Regions from separate parts of the Homo sapiens genome. Here regions 1 and 3 are each linked to region 2. Evidence: promoter capture Hi-C in 16 types of primary human blood cells and fetal thymus (Javierre and others, 2016). All regions are on one chromosome and are shown on one strand. The core of a region is centred on a gene start or on the middle of the fragment in contact, and the rest is flanking DNA. Distances in the headings are between cores, read along the strand shown. Region 1 overlaps ZSCAN20 (zinc finger and SCAN domain containing 20). Region 2 holds the start of CDCA8 (cell division cycle associated 8). Region 3 holds the start of YBX1 (Y-box binding protein 1).

Region 1 (2,700 bases), core at 178-2,677, 4.2 Mb before region 2:
ACTGACTCTAGTCTCCCTTCTCCCTTGCTCTACCCCATCATACTAATTGGGGAACCTAGGGCAACTGCTGAGTAAGATCAGGCTGTAAGCTGCAGCCTAGCTAGGCAGCCACAGGGGCTACATAACTTGTCCAAAGTAACACAGCTGATTAGTGGCAGGAGTGGAACTAGAACCCCAGTCTGCTCACTCCTGCCTTAATGTTCTTTCCATTCTCCCGTACTGTCATCTTAAGAGTTTGGATGACTAGCACACATAGAGGAGGCTATAAGACATGGTTAAGAAAAATGATTGGAGAAAAGGGATCTCGGCTTAGACCCTAACTCTACCACTTGCTAGTTGTGTAACCTTAAGTGAATCTTCATAAACACTCAGTTTCCCTTTAGGTAATTGAGGATATAGTGCAGTCATACCTTATCAGATAATAATATTCTAAGGGTGAAAATCACTTTAGCCAAAAATCACAGTTAGTTTGAAAATCCTTTGGCAAGGAGCCGTTTCAGAAACTAACACGCTGCCTTTCAATAAATAAACTAATCAGCACAGCTGGGCTTTCTTGTTTGAACATTAGATGAGAATTCGCTTGTATTAGGGACTGTGCGGTATGAAAGACACTTTACTCACACTTAGTGGAAAGAGAGGCACGAGGGAATCAAGACCAACCTGGTGAATAGCGAAGTCCTAGGTGCCACCACCACATGCTTATTCTCGAACAGATAGTGAACGCAACTGGCTGCACTATTTAAATCATGCTCTTTCTCTCTTTCTTTTTTTTTTCTTCTTTTTCTGAGACAGAGTCGTGCTCTGTTGCCCAGGCTGGAGTGCAGTGGCACGATCTCAGCTCACTGCAACCTCCGCCTCCTGGGTTTAAGCAATTCTCCTGCCTCAGCCTCCCGAGTAGCTGGGATTACAGGTACGAGCCACCACGCTTGGCTATTTTTTTTTTTTTTTTGTATTTTTAGTAGAGACAGGGTTTCACCATGTTGGCCAGGCTGGTCTCGAACTCCTGACCTTGTGATCTCCCTGCCTCGGCCTCCCAAAGTGCTGGGATTACAGGCGTGAGCCACCGCGCCCGGCCCTCTTTCTCTCTTTCTGATCTTTGCAGTGGAAGTTACAGATCAGTGAAATGCAGCTCAACACCTAATGAGACTCCAGTTGCTGCCTGGAGGCTTCAGTGAGATTATGAATGTGGAACACAGCACTGTGCCTGGCACCTTGTGGGCACTCAGTAAAGGGGTACTCTTAGAAATTGCTGGTCCTAATGAGGCTCGATATTCCTGGTCATCTCGGAACTGAGGAATGCCCCGGTCCATTTTCCCTTGTTCACTTCTGTGTGAAGTCACCCGGCTGTTGGCCGACTCTGTTGGCCTCCCTCTCCCCACAATAGCCTGCTATCCATACTTCGGTCTAACTTCCTTAGAAAGTTACGGTTATGGTTCCTTAGAAAAAAAAGGTTATGGTGATATGTGGTCCCTGGGGCTTTCCGATTTCTATTTGAAACAAACCTTTGGGACTTTCAAGTCTTTCCAGGAGAAAATACCTATTATCTGAGACTCTGAGCTTTGGGCCTGGTGTGACTGCTAATTGCCTATTTTGTTGTAGTGTCCTGTTTGTGCAGGAACGCAAATGTCTTTGCTTGCTTATTGACTGTCTGTCTCACTAGACTGTAATTTTATTGAAGGTAGGGACTGTCAGTCCCAGCTACTGGTAGATCTGTAGCTTCCAAACAGGGTATAGCTGGTACTCTATAAATGATTGATGAATTGCTCCTTGTGTGAGAGGGTGACAGAAATGTGTTTGAACTCATGCATCAATAAGGTTGTGGTTCAAAAAGAAATTTCATGAAAGGCGAATTCTTTAGGTTCAAAAAGAAATTTCATGAAAGGCAAAATCTTTCTACATATGTGATCTCTCTGAGTGCTTATAGCAGTAATGTAGGTAGACAGAAATAGTTTAGTTTAATATAAATTATGGAATATCTGTATCCCATTAGGCTTTTGATACGCCAGGTTTATCATTTTAATACATGGTAATAAAACTTTTTAATGGCCCTGCTATTTATCAGATACTGGGTTGAGCACTGTGGATACAGAAATTAGTAACATACAATACTGATTCTAGTAATATAGTATAATGTGGGTGTCAGATATAGTAACAGGTAACTACAATAGTGTAGGATAATACCTATATTAGAGGTATGTACCAATTGCTTTGGTGATATAGGATCAGGGAGGCAATTCTTGGAGGGCAGGACATGAAAAGGGCATGTCAAGGAACTCCTATCAAAGGAGGTGACATTTGAGCTGGTGGTTGAAGGATGAGTAGGAAGCTGCCAGGTAGCCATGAGTTGTGCTTTAAGCCTCTTCCTAAGCATATGGAGGCCTTTAGGGCAAGACTTTAATTTTTATTACCCTTGTCTTGTTTCTCTTCAGTCCAGTCAGATTGCCCAAAATGAAAAATACCACCATCTCTCCATTCTCAATTCAGTTGTGTCATTCCCACTTGGAAGCAGCTAATGATCTCCTTTGAGTGGGCATTTTTTATGTCACCCAGACTTGTTGGGATGACACAGAGAGCTCATTTTTTCAAATAACCCAGCATGGGTGCCATCAGAGAGGCTGTAATCTCCTCTGGGACACACATAGATACGCACATCCTTCTCATACAATGTCTCATACAGTGTAGAAAGTGGTAAGTGTCACA
Region 2 (2,700 bases), core at 2-2,501:
CTCGCTGGTGCCCATCAGGAGCCTGCTTGGCACCTTTGCTTATTTCTTCGATTGTTCCTCAACTCAGAGGGGGAGAGGCAAGATTATCACTCCCATAGCCTATAACATGCACGCTTAAACACAACCCCTCTGACATGGCTTCAGACCGCATCCACAGGTGAAAAGCACCAAATCCAAACAATCAGGCCACAAACCCGTCAAGAGCTCGCCGGTCTGGCCGTCCAGTCGCCGCCCGCCTTGAGACTCAGCCTGAGCTACAGCTTCGAAACTAGCCTCTAGCCTTCTGGGTCTCAGCACAACTCTTGAGCAATCCAACCCTGTGGCCGTGGGCAGATACCAAGATGCACAGTTAGCACCTCCGACAGGACCGCGGCTCGGCGGGGCTCGCCGTCTACACGCCCATTCCCAGGCCCACGGCCACGACACCCAGAGCTGCCTCCTGCCCTGGGCTCCCTGGAGCCTGGTGGCCGCGGCTCATGCTGCAGTCACCGTGTGGCCAGCTGCCAAGCGCCACTACTTGCACCTGAAGTCGCAGCCCCGCGCTGCGCACCCAGTCGAGGCGCCAACACGCGAACTGGGCGGGAGTGGCCGGCCCGCGGGGGAGCGAGGAACGACAGGGTTCCCCCCACTCGCTGCCCAGACTGGCCGCGGGATAGCGCGCCCCCCCCAAAGCCTGCACCCCTGCCCTGCTCCTCTATCATTCCGTCCCCCTTGCTCTGTCAAACCCTGCCGGGGCTGCTCTGTCTCTGCCGACCCGCCACTTGCCCGAAGTTCGGCCTGAGGAGCTTGGGGCCCTGAGGAGCGCCGACGTAGGCAGCCAGCCAGTCAATCAGTCAGAGGGTCACGGCGGCCCCTCGGCTACTCAGTGGCAGCCAGGCCAGAAAGAAGCAGCCGCCAACCCTGGAGCAGAATCCTACAGCCGACCTGACCTAGTAGGCCCCCAGCCCTCCAGAGCTTGGGGTATTGCAGAGCCGCCACAAGGCCTGCCGGGAGTAGTAGTTTGTATAGTTCGCAGCCGGCCAGGGCGGAGCCGGGTGGGTTGGTGGGGAGGGCGGGGAAACAAGCCTGGACCACAACTCCCAGGAGTACCCGCGACGGCGGCGGCCTCGCTGTCGCACTCAGGCTATAGGGGGCGCATTGGGCGGAAGACCCTGGGCCGGCAGGAACTTGCTTGTGATTGGATGTTGTGGGACGGCGGCTTCTCATTCGTCAGCCTGTGACTGTGGAGTTTGAATTGGGTGGCGGTTGACTGTAGAGCCGCTCTCTCTCACTGGCACAGCGAGGTTTTGCTCAGCCCTTGTCTCGGGACCGCAGGTACGTGCCTGGCGACTTCTTCGGGTGGTCCCCGTCCGCCCTCCTCGTCCCTACCCAGTTTCTTGCTTCCCTGCCCCATCTCCGCCGCTCCCCGCAGCCTCCGCCGAGCGCCATGGCTCCTAGGAAGGGCAGTAGTCGGGTGGCCAAGACCAACTCCTTACGGAGGCGGAAGCTCGCCTCCTTTCTGAAAGACTTCGACCGTGAAGGTAAGGGGCCAGGCCGTCGCGGCCTCCTGGGGCGGTCGCGGGATGCTGGCGGGTGGGGACACGAGCTGCACAGATTCGCCCGCCCGTGACCCGTGTCCTGTCGGCTCTGCCCTCCCGCAGTGGAAATACGAATCAAGCAAATTGAGTCAGACAGGCAGAACCTCCTCAAGGAGGTGGATAACCTCTACAACATCGAGATCCTGCGGCTCCCCAAGGCTCTGCGCGAGATGAACTGGCTTGACTACTTCGGTAAGAGCTGGAGAGCTTCCCTGGGCGGAGGCCAGGAGCCCCTTGGGGTTAGGTGACACCCTTCAGAAAGGGCTCGCTCAGATGTCACCTTTTAATGAGATCTGACATGACCACTTATGGAAAATTGCAGACCCTTTCACTCTCTGTCTCACTTCCCTACTTCATTTTTCTCTATGAAAAATGGGGGGGTGGTTGGGGGGCGGCGGGCGGGGCGGTCTCTGTCGGACAACTCAGCTCTGCTGTTTACAGGTCCAAAACAGCTGTAGTGAATGGGCATGGATGGGCTGTATTCCAATAAAATTTTAGTTATGGATACACTGAAATGTGAATTTCACATAATTTTCACACATCAGGAAATTTATTTAATTTTTTTTAAACAGAGTCTCACTCTGTCACCCAGGCTGGAGTGCAGTGCAGTGCAGTGGTGCGATCCCTGCTCACTGCAACCTCCACCTTCTGGGTTCAAGTGATTCTCCTGCCTCAGCCTCTGGAGTGGCTGGGATTACGGTCGCCTGCCACCATGCCCCGCTGATTTTTGTATTTTCAGTAGAGACGGGGTTTCACCATGTTGGCCAGGCTGGTCTCGAACTCCTGACCTCAAGTGATCCACCTACATAGGCCTCCCAAAGTGCTGGGATTACAGGAGTCAGCCACTGCGCCCGGCCAGAAAATAGTATTTTTAAAAATATATGTATATTTTACCCATTTAAAAATGAATGAATAAATGACATGGTTAGTTAACCAGAGCTCAGATAGAAGAATAACCCGAAGCAGCTCCTTCTGCAGCTTATGGAAATTGCTAACCTAAAAATGGGCGCATCAGGCTGGGCGTGGTGGCTCACGCCTGTAATCCCAGCACTTTGGGAGGCTGAGGCGGGCAGATGACCTGAGGTCAGGAGTTCGAGACCAGCCTGACCAACATGGAGAAACC
Region 3 (2,700 bases), core at 176-2,675, 5.0 Mb after region 2:
CAAGAACGCCTTTAGGAGGTGGAACTCACAGGCCTAGACGGCATTGGTAGGGGTAAGGAATACTGCATTAGCCTCCTAACTGCTTTCTCTACTTCCATTCCTTGCCCCTCTGCAACCCATTCTCCACTCCGCAGCCATTTTTAAAAAGATGCCCCTCCCTACTTATGACTCTAAAATTGCTCTTCTCACTCTTCCCCTCAGGATATATTTCCAATTAAATATACCTAAGTGACTGCCCACCTCTGCAACCCAATGTCACATTCGAGTCTTACTGAACTACTTGACTGCATTTCCCGAGATCTCACCTCTTCTCGCCTGTACCCTGTGCGCGGAAAGTCAGCCCTCCACCTTCTCCCTGCTTCCACTCCCAAAATACTTCGTGGTTTTGCAGCTCTGGAGTATTTACCGTGTTGGCTGTTTAAATTTCTGCCTCCATCAGAAGGCAGAAACTGACTCGCGAACTATTCCATCCCCAGCCGATAGTAGACGCTTAAAAAAGAACGAAAGAAGGTGGGTGGAGGACTTCAGTAACATCAGGTGGCAGCCTCAATTTTATCGTTTGTGAAACGTGGATAGTAATCCCTCTATCACGTGGCTGTTGCAGGAATAAAGTGAAAAAACAAAACAGGCTAGCTTGTTCAATAAATGTGAGTTGAATTAAATCTGATTTGTGGTCAGTAGAAAAAGATGTGAATACTTGGAAAGGAAGACACATTTTTTTAAATATATGCCTGGTAAAACGGATCAGAAGGCAGGTCCCCATGGAGCACACCCTCGCCCTAAACATGCTGAACCCGGGCTGCCATAGCCTGCGTGGTCCCTCCAAGGTGACTGCTCCGACAAAAGGGTACGCTCTTCAAACGCATACGTTTAAGGCAATTCCAGAAACCCTCGGCTGTGCCGCGACTACACGGCCATTAAAGAAAAGACGACTCTATGCCCGCCGTAATGTTCTCAGATCACAGGGACCGTATTTGGAGCTGGGAGGGAGGGAAGCCTTTTCTTCACGGGGGGCTAAGGCGTCTTCGAGCCCCCTTCCAATCCCGGGTCCGGCCGGGTAATCCCTGCCCAGCGTTCGGGCGTGCCTTTTTTTCAGCCGAGACACAACCCTGAACGTGGGGCCCGCCAGCCCGGCGGCTGCCTCGTGGAAGTCACGTTCCTTCTGCCCGTCCTCTCGGGTACTCTATGGTTTTCGTGGCCGACTACTCTAATTCTAGTTCCGGTCTCTATGGCGGCCGGCGGAGGCAGGAACGGTTGTAGGTCGACTGAATTAGCCGCCAAAGGTCCAATGAGAATGGAGGACTGATAAAATATTAGCCAATAGAAGCTAGGGATTGGGGTCAGGTGGGCAGATTGACAGTACCACTGGCCAGTGAACAACGCCTAGGGCGGGTCGCTCGTAGGGCTTATCCCGCCTGTCCCGCCATTCTCGCTAGTTCGATCGGTAGCGGGAGCGGAGAGCGGACCCCAGAGAGCCCTGAGCAGCCCCACCGCCGCCGCCGGCCTAGTTACCATCACACCCCGGGAGGAGCCGCAGCTGCCGCAGCCGGCCCCAGTCACCATCACCGCAACCATGAGCAGCGAGGCCGAGACCCAGCAGCCGCCCGCCGCCCCCCCCGCCGCCCCCGCCCTCAGCGCCGCCGACACCAAGCCCGGCACTACGGGCAGCGGCGCAGGGAGCGGTGGCCCGGGCGGCCTCACATCGGCGGCGCCTGCCGGCGGGGACAAGAAGGTCATCGGTGAGGACCGGACAGGGACGGGGGTGGGGCCCTCGGGCAGCCCAGCAGCGGAACCGTTAGCCGGAGCTGGGCGAGCCGGCGGGCGCGCGGCCGGTGGGCACCGACTCCGCGGCGCGCGGCCGCCCATCCCCCCCGTCCCCCCCTCACTCCCTCTCGCGGGGACCCGCCCGGCAGGCGCGCGCGCACTGCCTCCCGCGCCCCCTGTGGACCCCGCGCGGCCGCGCGCCCCTCCCCCTGCGGCCGCGCGCCGCCGACCGCGTGTGCGACGGGGTCCCCTCCCCGCCGACCGGCCTCGTGCGCTCGGGCCCGCACGCCGTTGTTCGCGTCACCCCCACCCAGCTCCCTTCCGCGTGTGCTCGGAGGGCGCGGCGCACCGCCTACGCAGGCCGGAGCGGCTTCCCCTTCCCTCACGTGCTCTCCGTCCGCGGCCTGCGCACACACCCATCCTGGGGCCCGCGCCCCGGGCCTGCCCTGGAGCGCCCCGCGCTTCAGACTCACCCACGTGTGCGGCGGCGGCGGCGACTGCGTGGCCCCGCACCCGGGCGGTGGAGAGAAAGGGCTGTCAGGTGGCCGCGGCGGCCGGCGTGCGAGGGACCGGATGCCCAAGCCGGGCGGATTTGGAAAAGGATAGCTGGTAATCGTGGCTTGTTTTGCTTTGTTTTCTTTTCCAGCAACGAAGGTTTTGGGAACAGTAAAATGGTTCAATGTAAGGAACGGATATGGTTTCATCAACAGGTGAGCTGCCGGGCTCTGAAGCCTCCATCCCACCTTCTTGCTTGCTTCCTGCTCTGTCGGCTTCTCGGGGCTTGGGAAGCCCCAATCCACAGCTCTGTTCTGAAAGGCGTTTACTACCTCTGGTGTATTAGTATGATTTTTTGTTGTTGTTGTTTTCCTTGATTAGGGATTAGTGGATCTAGAGAATGCCTTTGTTTTGCAGCTAAATATTAATTTGAAGCTAACT

The links. The method cuts DNA at HindIII sites, captures the fragments that hold promoters and counts their contacts. A CHiCAGO score of 5 or more calls a contact.
Region 1: a contact is called between a fragment that was not itself captured here and the fragment with the promoter of CDCA8 in region 2, in 1 of 17 cell types (non-activated CD4 T cells). The highest score is 5.4, in non-activated CD4 T cells.
Region 3: the fragment with the promoter of YBX1 here is called in contact with the fragment with the promoter of CDCA8 in region 2 in 1 of 17 cell types (non-activated CD4 T cells); the score reaches 6.4 in non-activated CD4 T cells.

The regions. Positions count from the first base shown.
Region 1 is chr1:33,474,893-33,477,592 of GRCh38, forward strand. The region is part of intron 1 of ZSCAN20 (zinc finger and SCAN domain containing 20); the gene reads left to right. Among named protein-coding and RNA genes, the nearest start is that of ZSCAN20, 3.6 kb to the left of the region's middle. The HindIII fragment of the contact is 4,752 bases long and covers 1-2,700 here.
Region 2 is chr1:37,691,265-37,693,964 of GRCh38, forward strand. It overlaps CDCA8 (cell division cycle associated 8), which reads left to right and starts at 1,252. Exons shown (of 10, transcript NM_001256875.2): 1 at 1,252-1,520; 2 at 1,641-1,769. The coding sequence starts at 1,427. It also overlaps a transcript of AIRIM not described here. RefSeq lists enhancers at 1-503, 504-1,013, 786-975, 1,014-1,524, 1,525-2,033 and silencers at 306-365, 386-555. The HindIII fragment of the contact is 4,527 bases long and covers 1-2,700 here.
Region 3 is chr1:42,680,993-42,683,692 of GRCh38, forward strand. YBX1 (Y-box binding protein 1) reads left to right here and starts at 1,426. Exons shown (of 8, transcript NM_004559.5): 1 at 1,426-1,739; 2 at 2,411-2,474. The coding sequence starts at 1,574. It also overlaps a transcript of PPIH not described here. RefSeq lists an enhancer at 1,082-1,131 and silencers at 1,572-1,771, 1,962-2,071, 2,182-2,331. The HindIII fragment of the contact is 3,657 bases long and covers 1-2,700 here.